Linked DNA regions of Homo sapiens: all the other regions are linked to region 2. The links are contacts of gene promoters, found by promoter capture Hi-C in human tissues and cell types (Jung and others, 2019). All regions are on one chromosome and are shown on one strand. The core of a region is centred on a gene start or on the middle of the fragment in contact, and the rest is flanking DNA. Distances in the headings are between cores, read along the strand shown.

What was found. The method cuts DNA at HindIII sites, captures the fragments that hold promoters and counts their contacts. A contact is called where the count stands out against the background at its distance.
Region 1: a contact is called between a fragment that was not itself captured here and the fragment with the promoter of FAM110D in region 2, in 5 of the 25 tissues and cell types used here (IMR-90 fibroblasts, dorsolateral prefrontal cortex, lymphoblastoid cells and 2 more).
Region 3: a fragment that was not itself captured here is called in contact with the fragment with the promoter of FAM110D in region 2 in 2 of the 25 tissues and cell types used here (adrenal gland and thymus).

What each region holds. Positions count from the first base shown.
Region 1 is chr1:26,252,776-26,256,495 of GRCh38, reverse strand. CEP85 (centrosomal protein 85) reads right to left here. Exons shown (of 14, transcript NM_001319944.2): 4 at 631-1,325. Among named protein-coding and RNA genes, the nearest start is that of CEP85, 20 kb to the right of the region's middle. The HindIII fragment of the contact is 5,989 bases long and covers 1-3,720 here.
Region 2 is chr1:26,157,657-26,161,334 of GRCh38, reverse strand. FAM110D (family with sequence similarity 110 member D) reads right to left here and starts at 2,256. Exons shown (of 2, transcript NM_024869.3): 1 at 2,209-2,256; 2 at 1-123. The coding sequence starts at 43. The HindIII fragment of the contact is 16,538 bases long and covers 1-3,678 here.
Region 3 is chr1:26,280,905-26,285,117 of GRCh38, reverse strand. UBXN11 (UBX domain protein 11) reads left to right here. Exons shown (of 15, transcript NM_001389556.1): 11 at 636-756; 12 at 873-976; 13 at 2,181-2,254; 14 at 2,329-2,469; 15 at 2,549-2,836. The coding sequence ends at 2,819. It overlaps SH3BGRL3 (SH3 domain binding glutamate rich protein like 3), which reads right to left. Exons shown (of 3, transcript NM_031286.4): 2 at 4,186-4,213; 3 at 3,596-4,060. The coding sequence ends at 3,995. Among named protein-coding and RNA genes, the nearest start is that of SH3BGRL3, 2.9 kb to the right of the region's middle. RefSeq lists enhancers at 436-525, 651-1,241, 3,737-4,213. The HindIII fragment of the contact is 4,676 bases long and covers 1-3,598 here.

The DNA of each region.
Region 1 (3,720 bases), core at 1,175-3,674, 95 kb before region 2:
GCAATGGCGCAGTCTCGGCTCACTGCAACCTCCGCCTCCCAGGTTCAAGCAATTCTCCTGCCACAGCCTCCTGAGTAGTTGGGACTACAGGCGCATGCCACCACACCTGGCTAATTTTTATATTTTTAGTAGAGGCAGGGTTTCACTCTGCTGGCCAGGCTGGTCTCGAACTCCTGCCCGCCTCGGCCTCCCAAAATGCTGGGATTATAGGCGTGAGCCACCTGGCCTCAAAGATGGTTTTTAAACCCCAGCTCTGCCAATTACCAACTCTATGACCCCGTACAGATTATGTAGTCTAAGAACCTGGTAAGTTTCTACATCTACCTCGTTAGTACACTATGAAGATTAAATAAAATGCTGTATGTGAAAGTACTTAGCCTAGTGACGTATAAATACGTTTTTAGGTTTTCCTTTGTAACCTTTTGCTATTTTGGAGACCCTATCTGGTGCTTAATTTGACTACCAAACAGATTCAATGGCCAACAGCTCACAAGCCTGTATTTCCTGTCTACAAACATCTTCCTTCTTTTTACAGCTATTTTCTTTAAGCCAAAATTCAAAGGACAAAAGCTATTACAATTCTAAGAACTGTACAGAACCTAGAAAATCCAAGGAAAGATAGACCTCTACCTGCATTTGCTCCATCTGTAAACGAATCAATTCCAGCTGCTGCCGACAAGTGCTGAGTTCACAAGATTGCTCTCGGGGATGCCAAGTGTCAGGACTCGGCTGCCACACCTGAGAGGGCAGAGGCTTGGAGAGCCCGGGAGCAGGCTGGAGTCCCAAAGGGAGGACCCCACTGCTATTAGAATGTGGTCCATTCCGCTCAAACACTGCCCCGCTGCCCGGTGCCTTCTTGGCCTCAGGCAACACTCTGTACAACTCCTTACTTGTGCTGGTTCTTGGGTTGTGGAAGCGGACTCGGTGGTGAGGATCTGAATAAAGTGTCTCCATCATTGCCGACTGATTGAGGGTAGATTCCATGCTAGGAATATCAAACTTCCTCGCCTCTTCTTGTCTTTCATGGCCCACTGCTGGAAACCAGGACTGCTCAATTCCATTTTCTCCAGTAGCACCAGAGAAATACATGAGATCTCTAGATAGGCCTGGAGAATGTTTCATTGCACCGAGGTCTCCATTTCTTGTCATTCCCACACTTTCAGCCAACCCTGACAAAGGGAGTTTAGAGGAAGAGGGTCCAACAGGTGTAGAATTTGGCTTGGCAGGAGAGGTCCCTAAAGTAGAAGGCATCACATGGGCTGTTGGAATGGTTACGTGGCTTTTGATGGGCTGGAAAGGAGGACTGCCACTTGAGCTGCAAAAATCTGGGGAGAGAATAGTCTTCCATAAGTAAAAATTGAAGTAGCAAGCTTTCTTGAGTTTGAATGCTATGCCAGAAGCTCTCGGCCTGTCCTGAGACCAAGCAGAGAGAGCACCATCATCAAAAGTATCAGGCAGAAAGAAACGGCAACCAAACTGGGAGATGTATGTTCCAGGATCTCAAATGCCATTCACAAGGTAAACTAACAAAAGGCAATAATGACTTCACTTTTAACTTAGTCCTTTGTACTGGAATAAAAAAAATCTTGTCAGTCAACAGACAAAGCTGAAAAACTTTTAAAAAGTTTTTTAAAAAATTTAAACTTTAAAACAAATTACTTACTTAAGGAAAATGAGTTAGGTCCTACTCTTCTGGAAGCTGGACAACTCTCAGCTATAATCAAATCTAATAAAAATATCCTTTCCAAGAGTCACCAGAATCTTCTGCGACCTCCAAAAGCTCCCCCAGGAAGGTGAGCAACGAGTCCAAACTATCTGAAGAATGAAGCGAACTAGACAGTCTTGCTCAGTATGCAGGACAGGGAGTATGGCATCTGAGGCAGGATTCTGTTCTCTCTCCCATACCCCAAACCTGACTGCCTGGATATGTGAAGTTATTCTTAGTAACTCTCAGGTTTCACTCTAGCACAGTGAGCACTCTCAATTGGGTACACACTGAAATCCTCTATTTTATATTTTGCCTTTCACTTGCCCCCTTGTGTGTACCCAACTGTGTTTTTTTTTTTTTAACTTTTCCTTCAGACTGAATTTGTGTTTCCTTTGGCTCCTGCCTGGTCTTGGGAGACAACCCTTGATTAGCCCTACTATACAAGGTTCACATTTCTACCTATTTCCAACTTTCAAGTACTACTCTGAGGGGGACTACTGCAAGCAAACAATAAGGGAGGAATGTGAGGTAACATACTTATTGCTTTCAGCAGGCAGAAAACTGAATAAGGAAATAAGGAATACCAATTTCTTCTCTTTTCAACTATATTCAGTACTCGTTCCCAAATCAAGCATATCTACCACGGAGAAGAGCGACTACCAACTTGTTTCTTTTTCTCCCCAGCAACCAACACAGAGAACACTCAGATAACAACAACAAATACTATAATTGTTCCCAGAATTATGTAAGTATAGATCAGCTACGACCTTCTCATTAAACAACTTTTTTTTTTGAAATGGGGTCTCACTCTGTCACCCAGGCTGGAGCACAGTGGCGTGATCACAGTTCACTGCAGCCTCGACCTCCCCAGGCTCAGGTGATCTTCCCACCTCAGTTTTTGTATTTTTAGGAGAGATGGGGTTTCGCCATGTTGCCCAGACTGGTCTCGAACTCATGGGCTCAAGTGATCCACCTGCCTCAGCCTCCCAAAGTGCTAGGATTACAGGTGTGAGCCACCATGCCCGGCCTTAAGCAACTCTTTAAAAATATGGGCAAGCCACCTCACACCTGTCAGAATGGCTATGATGAAAAAGATGAGGCCGGGCGCAGTGGCTCATGCCTGTAATCCCCAGCACTTTGGGAGGCTGAGGAGGGGGGATCATGAGGTCAGGAGATCGAAACCATCCTGGCTAACACGGTGAAACCCTGTCTCTACTAAAAATACAAAATATTAGCCAGGTATGGTGGCACGCGCCTGTAGTCCCAGCTATTCGGGAGGCTGAGGCAGGAGGATCGCTTGAACCCAGGAGGTGGAGGTTGCAATGAGCCAGGATCGCACTACTGCACTCCAGCCTGGGCGACAGAGTGAGACTCCATCTCAAAAAAAAAAAAAAAAAGATGAAAGATAACAAGTTTGGAGAGGATGCAGAGAAAAGGGAACTCTAGTACACAGTTGGGGGGAATGTAACACAGCCACTGTGGAAAACAATGGAGTATGTAGCTCCTCAAAAAACTAAAAATAGTTACCATATGATCCAGCAATCCACTTCTGGGTATATATCCAAACGATATGAAATATGTATGTCCAAGAGATATCTACAATCCCATGTTTACTGAGTAATTATTCACAATAGCCAAGTTATAGAATCAACAGACGAACAGATAAGGAAAATGCAGTATATTACACAACGGAATACCAGCCTTATAAAAGATGTCAATTGTGTCACTTGCAACAACATGGATGAAACTGGAGGACACTAAGAGAAATAAGCCAGGCACAAAATGACAAATACTGCACGTTCTTACTTATATGTGGAAGCTAAAAAAAACCTCGACACATAGAAACAGAGAGAATAATTGTGGTTACCAGAAGCTGGGAGCAGGGGGAATCGAGAGATGCTGATCAAAGGGTAAAACATTTCGGTTAGACAGGAGGAATAAATACTTTAAAAAAAGACGTGCAAGCCTTATATTACATGCATAGTATCTAATTTGCTATACTGAAGATGATC
Region 2 (3,678 bases), core at 1,007-3,506:
GGGTCCGTCCTCTGGACGGGGTGGAGGGAGGGGCCAGGAGCATCTTAGCAGAGCTGGTCAGGACAGTGCCCCATAAGTAGCCAGCCACGGGGCCTAGAGCAATTGGCTTGGGCTCTCACTGACCTGCAGGGAGAGAGGAAGGTCAGGGGAAGGGTAGGAAATGCCCCTGGTCCTCTCCTGCCGGCATTCCTCAGTATAGGATCAGTCAGCCACCCTCTCCCATCCAGGTTAGCCGGTGCCACATCCAGGGAGCAGAGGCTCAGGCCATCCCCTTTCCCTGTCCTTCAGAGACATTGAGTGGGGTCTCTCTGGCCACTCAGAAACATATTCCCCTTTGAAGGTGCCCCAATCTGGCCACAGGGTCGTGCAAGCAGGCCTTAGCAAGCAGGACACTTGGAAAAGGAAACAGGGCTGGTCCCGGCCCAATTCCTGAAAGTGGCTTCAACCGGAAAAAATACCTCTTCCCAACCCAGCAGCTTTGAGCCCAAGACAAGAAGGCTCCCAGCCACAGGCTGGCTCCAGCAGGGCCCACCCTTCCCGCCCCCAAACACCGAGGTCGGGGATATAACCACAGGGTAGGAGCCTCCAGTAATTGCAGCCAACTGCCCTGCCCAGGCCCAGCAGGGCCATCGGGGCAGGAGAGGGAGGTGGTCCCCAGGCCCTATCAGCTACTGCCAGCTACTCTGCCCCTGCCAAGGGGATCGCAGAATGCCAAACTGTAAACATCACCTTGTTTAACCTTTGCATTTCCATTTCATGAAGAGGAAACTGGCTTGGAGAGGAGGGGGGCTTGCTCAGGTCCTATTGAGAGTTAGGAGCCAGGACTGGAACCCAGGTTTCTTTTTTTTTTTTCTTTAGACGGAGTCTTGCTTTGTCACCCAGGTTTCTTGCCTTGCAGTTCAGATTGGATCTCTCACTTGCCTATCAGAACTTCCCACTGAGGCCAGGCGCGATGGCTCATGCCTGTAATCCCAGCACTTTGGGAGGCCGAGGTGGGTGAATTACCTTAGGTGAGGAGTTCCAGACCAGCCTGGCCAACATGGCAAAACCCCATCTCTACTGAAAATACAAAAATTAGCCAGGCGGGGTGGCGCACACCTGTAATCCCAGCTACTTGGGAAGCTGAGGCAGGAGAATCGCTTGAAGCTGGGAGGCGGAGGTTGCAGTGAGCCGAGATCGCGCACCACTGCACTCCAGCCTGGGCAACAGAGCGAGACTCCGTCTCAAAAAAAAAAAAAGAAAAAAAAAAAGAACTCACTGATATTTTGCGTGTATTCCCGCTGCTATAAAACCAAGCAATTTCCGTTAGAAATGGGCCCCTTGCCTCACTAAAAAGTTCCTTCCACTAATTCTTCCTAATAACCTGCGCTCCCACTCCCAGAAATTTGCCCCCAGGGTCCTTGTCCCTTTTTTATCCTAAGACCTCATGACCCTTTTCCACCTCCCTTCTGCTGGGGCAAGGAGCGAGGAGGGGTTGTAAATCAAGAGCTGACAGTTCTCTTGGCAGTAACAGAATGGGCCACCCACATGGCCCTGCACACCCGACCCCACCCCTATCTTCCCCTACTCCCCCTGAGTCCTGGAGGCTGAGGGACCTTGGATCTGGGGACAACAAAGGAACAGAATTAGCCAGGGAAGTGGGGAAGGAGTCTGTGAGAGGCCTTGGGGCAGAGACCCTGCCAGGTCCAGCCCACCCCTGCACCCAGCATCTAGTGTGTAGTCAGTCTGCTCATAGGTAGTTGAGGCCTGGGAACCAAGGAGAGTCTGGCAGTGTCCCCCTCCCTGTCTCCCAGGGAGTCTCCTTGGCAGTGGGTCAGATTCCAAGGTCCCAGGAAGGCACTGCTTGTCTGACCCCATGGGTGCCCTCTGTCCTCTCCTCTTCTCCCCAGCCCTGAGCAGGGAGACTATAAAAAGTTCCTAATCACAAGGACCAAAATAGTCTGTCATCCACAGCCTCTTCCCTGCCTTCTGGGCTAGCCTGGAGGCCGGACCTCAGACATCCCGCCCTAGAAGCCTGGCAGGCAGCCTCGGGCCCTCCATTCCTTTGCCTGCCTTCTCCCAGTCCTGAAACTTGTGGTCTCAACTCTGCCCAAGGCTTCTGCTCTGGGCATGGGCCATCTTTTAGGCTCACTAGTTTGGCACCAGTCTCCCTGCCCTCAGGCCCCTGGGTTCCTTCTTACCCCAGCCCTGGGCTCAGGGTACACTCACCTCTGCATGGGAGGCCTAATTGCAGGGGTCCTTGGGCAGGTCCAGACTGAGGGCAGGAGTGGACAGCAAGGACTAGAAGTAACTTTGGTGGCAGCCAAACCTCACTCTCCACAGGAAAAGCAGAGAAAGCCTCCACCCCCCGCCCCCCAAATTAACCCTCGCCTTCCTGAGGCAGATCCTGGCCTCCATTAACTCTTTCCTGATCACAGTCCTGCGCTGTGGAGACCTGTGAACCAAGTCCAGCTCCTTTTATTTTACAGATGGTCAAACAGTCCCAGCCCGGTTAGGTGATTGGCTGTGGAAGCACTGTGAGCTTGGGCAGAGCCAGGACTCCAAACAAGGCCTCCTGATCCCCAGGCTTCCTCCAAAGGCCTGGGGTGGGGGCTCCGTATGTGGGATCAGCCCCCTCCCTGGGCTGTGGCAGATGCTCTGACAGTCTGAATGGGAAGGCAGAACAGGGTTCTAGTCAACTTGCTTTTTTCCCTCTGTAGCAGGCTGAGACCTGTCTTGGTCTGGGTGCTGGGTGGTGTCAAGCCTGCTTTCCCTGGGGGCGAGACCAGGAATCTGCAGCCTAAGGGTGGGGGCATTGGTGCTATAGATGTGCAGGTGAGCCTGTGGCGGCAAGTCTTGTCATGAAGGTGACCCTGGAGCCCACTGGAGCTGCCTCTGCCAAGGTCCTTTCATGGCAGATGGGATTGCCTGGGAAGACAGTGATGAGGGGCTGATTCCAGGGCCAAGCCCAGGTCCTTTGGCCCGCTTCCTTCTCTGCCCACACTTGGAGCCTCTTAGAGCTTCTTCCATCAGAGTTTCTTCTCTGACACCTTATGTCTCAAGGTGAAACCCTACCTCATAGGAGACACCTCCCCTCTCCCCAGCAGGCAAACTAAACTCTCCAGCCCAGACTAAGACCAGTGCTCAGGCCAAAGGTTCCTTTCCCCCCTTGGCTGGCCACCTTCCCCAAGTCCCTCCTCCTCCTTTCTAGCCCTCTTTCATGTTTGCAAAGCACATTCCCGTCTGTGCTCTCTGATCTCCTTTGACCGCCCCCAAACAAGGACCCTAGACAGGCGTCCAGCAGGAATGACCCCCCACTTAATGAGTAAGGAAACAGGAGCTGAGGGGGGAGAGAGATGCCCAAAGCCCAGCTCCAAATCCACATTTGGAACTGCATCCTCTGCCTGTCAAGTCAGTAGTGGGTCTGAAAACCCAAGGCCCATCTCCCGGTAAAAGGTTTTTATTACCTAAAGGGGGGATTTTGTTGGTGATAGTTCCATATTTTGTTGCTACAGCACTTTTCAAAATGCCATTAGCTGCTTTGTCATAATCCCCATGACAATCTTTGGGGGAGGTTTTATTATTTTTCACACTTACGGCTGAAGAGACTGAGGCTCAGAGAGGAGAAATGACTTATCCAAGCTCACCAAACTCTGTCACCCAGGCTGGAGTGCCGTGACGTGATCTTGGCTCACTGCA
Region 3 (4,213 bases), core at 11-2,510, 120 kb before region 2:
GGAGGCAGTGCTGTGAGCCACAAATGCAAAGCAGAGGGGACAGATGTTGGGACTCAAAGACATGAGGTAGAGCTGGCCCCATGGGTAGGTGCCACCACCAGAGCCCATGAGGCTTCGTGTTCTAGAAGGTGGTGGGTTAGTGCCGCACTGAGGGCGTGTCCGGGAGGGAGCATGTGTCACCAGGGCTCAGGAAACAGCATGAGTCATGACGCGGGGGTGTTTAAGGCATTCGTGCCACAGCGGGGACCTCGGAGCTATGCCTTGATAAGGCAAGTGAGGTTACATGTACGATGATGCGGTTTGTGCTGCAGACTGGAAAAAAGCAGGGGCTTTGTCCTCTCCTGACCCCCTCACACTCTGCCTTCACGGTAGGCTCCTGAGAGGGGGGTCTCCAAGGAGGGTGTCAGTACTGCAGCTTCAGCTGGCGTGGATGGGGTGCTTACAGGAGCAGCAGGGCTGAGGGAGATGACAGCAGTACGAACCGTGGCTCTCCTGAGGCCTGGGTTTCCTCATATGTAAAATGGGGGTTGCATTAGACCATACCCTTGGCCTGTGTTTAGGCAAATAGGGATGAAAGTGGGGCCAAGGGCTGAAGAGCTGGGTCCGCTGCCGTCGTTGCCCTTCTTTCTTGCCAGGTGAGTGACTTGCGCAATCAGGTCTACCTGGAGGATGGACTGGACCCCTTCCCAGGCGAGGGCCGTGTGGTGGGCAGGCAGCTGATGCACAAGGCCTTGGACAGGGTGGAGGAGCACCCAGGTGAGTTTGGCCTCCAGGCTGAGCCAGGGGGCTGGGGGACTGCAGAACAAACTCCAGGGGGGCTCCACCACCACTCATAGTCCTTCCTGGGCCCCGGTTCCCAACTCTGCCTGTAGGCTCCAGGATGACTGCTGAGAAATTTCTGAACAGGCTCCCCAAGTTTGTGATCCGGCAAGGCGAGGTGATTGACATCCGGGGCCCCATCAGGGACACCTTGCAGGTGAGGCCAATGCTAACTCCCCCAGCCCTCCTGGGGGAACTTTAGCACCAGCCCTGGTCCAGCCTGCCAGAACAGTGTCTTGTCAGAAGGCTCAAGCTTGAGGCACCTGATGAGTCCCTCAGAGCTGTTGCTCCACTGTCTCCTGGAAACTGTGAGGCTGGTGAGGGCACGGGCTGGGCCCCGGAAAGCAGGTGGGTTAGCTGTAAGAGGGCTAAAGTCAGAGTCCAGGCCAGGGGTGAGCCCAAGGCCCAGGCCACCCCATCAAGGTCTAGGCCAAAATATCCAACTCAGTACTGGGTACTCCCTTCGTGGTTGCCTCAGACTCTCCTTGGCCCTCATCATTCTGTCTCCTCGCTCCCTATTCTGCTTCTCCTCCTAGGTGTCCACCTGTGAAAGGCACCAAACCTTAGTTTCTCAGGCCTCCTCTGCCTCCCTCACCCACACATTGCTAAGTCCTGTCTGGTCTGTCCACCCCCAGAACTTCTCCCAGATGCATCCCTTCTCCACATTCCCACCACCCACCACCCTAGTCTAGGGTTCAGAGTGTCTCTCCCAGACAGCTGCCTCCCACTGCCACTCCTGCCCCTGCTGACCATCCTCCAGGCTGCCTTCCCTGTTGAAATGTTCCAGTGGTTCTTGAGATAAAGCCAGGTTCCTTATGCTGGCACTCAAGGCCCGTCCTATATTGCCAGGCCCCTCCTCACACCAACCTTTTCCTTCCAGTCCAATTGAGCCCCAGCTTCAGCCACACATAATGCTGGCAGTTGCCCAAATGTGTCGCCACCTCTAGGAAGCTTTCCCTGAACCCAGGATCTTTGTTGATGCTGTCTGGAATATCCCTGCATCCATTCCATTTCTAAGGACTCCCATTCATCCTTCAGTCACAGCTCAGTTGTCATTTTCCGAGGGAAGCCTTCCCTGACCCCAGGCTGGGGTGGGCTTCCAGCCTGATCATCGTCTGTGTGGGGTTCTGTCTCCATTAGACTGAAACGGGGGGTTACCTGGGGGGAACCATGGGGCTGCCTCCCAGAACCTTCTTCCCCTTCCATTGCCTCTCCTCTGGCCTTGGTTTATACAGAACACCCCCTCCCGCTTTGCTCACTGGTCTCATCTGTCCCTGGTCAAGGAAGTGTCCCTCTAAGGTTTGTGGGGATGACTCAAATGGGGCCTAGGGCTCTGTCCACCCTCCACTGATACCTTCCAGAACTGCTGCCCATTGCCTGCCCGGATCCAGGAGATTGTGGTGGAGACGCCCACCTTGGCCGCTGAGCGAGAGAGGTGAGGGCGGGATGAGGAGGTGAGGGCCTGGGGGCGTTGGGTCACCGCGTGCTGATGGCCTCTGGGCTGTGCAGGAGCCAGGAGTCACCCAACACGCCGGCACCCCCGCTCTCCATGCTGCGCATCAAGTCTGAGAATGGGGAACAGGCCTTCCTACTGATGATGCAGCCTGACAACACCATTGGGGACGTGCGAGCTCTGCTAGCGCAGGCCAGGTGGGTGCAGGGCAGGGCCAGGGCCACAGAGGGGCTCTGGTCCCACTGCCCAGCCTGATCTGCTCTGCCTGGTCCCCAGGGTCATGGATGCCTCTGCCTTTGAGATCTTCAGCACATTCCCGCCCACCCTCTACCAGGACGATACACTCACGCTGCAGGCTGCAGGCCTTGTGCCCAAAGCAGCACTGCTGCTGCGGGCACGCCGAGCCCCGAAGTCCAGCCTGAAATTCAGTCCTGGTCCCTGTCCCGGTCCCGGTCCCGGCCCCAGTCCCGGTCCCGGTCCCGGCCCCAGTCCCGGTCCCGGTCCCGGCCCCAGTCCCTGTCCTGGACCCAGTCCCAGCCCCCAATAAAGCACCCGCCCCCTCAACCCGCTGCTCCGCCAGGCTCTTGGGTGGGCCATCTCGCCAGGCACGTAGGAAAGGCCTGGGACCAGCTGGGCCAGGGAGGGGGCGGTGCCGACCCGCCCCTTGGTAACTCGAGCCCCGGCTGGCGGGCCTGGCTGCTGGGTCTTTGTCTTCTAGGTTCCTCTTTCTCCCAAGAAGGGCTAAGTGGATCCTGTGAAGGGAGGGATGCAGTGGGGGGAAGGAGCTGGCCCCAGCTGGGTTTACATTCTCAGCTGGGACAGCAGAGCCTCACTGTGTATGTGTGCAGCCAGCAGATACCTGTGCACAGGCACAGACCCACCAACTCGTGGGGACACTTCAACACCGCACAAAGCCATTTTGCCACTAGACCCATGCCCCCAAATTAGCAGAACTGCAGCTGGGTACCCACCTCCCATGATACACTCATTCTTAGCCATTGTGCTCCAACACAGGCGCATGGGATGGCCACACTCACTGACAGGCATGGAGATGTGCACTACACACCAAGGCACAAGCATGATATGGACACATGCATGTGAACTGGAGGGTGGCCCACCCAGACATCTCCAGAAACCACTGGTCCATACAGGTATTTGTGTGTCAGACATATCCAAACACATGCACTAACAAACACAGAGGTGACAGTCACAAGAGAACAGCTCAGCCACCCTTCCCACAGAGCAGTCTCAGCACAGTCACAACTACCAACCTTGCCCAGGGCAGGGACCCAGGAGGCCCAGGCCACAACCAACCAGACACAGTGCCAATGGAACAGGACATCATTTAATTGCCTCTAGGGTCCTCCTGGGAGAGGGACTGCGGGGCCTTTGGCAGAGCTCTGGCTGATGGAACCAACAGAGGTGCCCATCAGCCAGTGCCAGGCAGGATGGCGGCCCCAATGCTTGGCTGGGGGCAGCCAGCATTTGGGGCTGTTGCTTAAGACAATTTCTGAGACTAATGGGTAAGGAATGTTGCCTTTAGATGGAGGAGAGGGGACTACATTTAGAGAGGAGGGAGGAGAAGTGGCCTGCATTGGGGGAGGGACTCTAAGGTTAGGTTAGGAATGACAGGGAGTTGGTCAAAAGGTCCTTCATGGCCAGGTGAAGGCTGGGGGGAGTGTGGTGATGGAGTCCAGCAGGGGAACTCTGGACAGGCTTGACTCAAGCCAGCTTCAGGAACTCCTGCAGCGTGTTTTGTTCCACAGCCTCCACGAAGAGCTCATAGTCCTGGAGAAGGGGAGGCGAGGGGTGGTCACCTGAATGCAGGGGGCCCAAGTGCTTTGTGGCAGATATGACCCTGGCTAGAGTCCTCTTCCAACACTCCCCCCACCCCCCCGTCCCCCAGCCCATACCCCACAGTACTGGTCCCCGTTGACAATC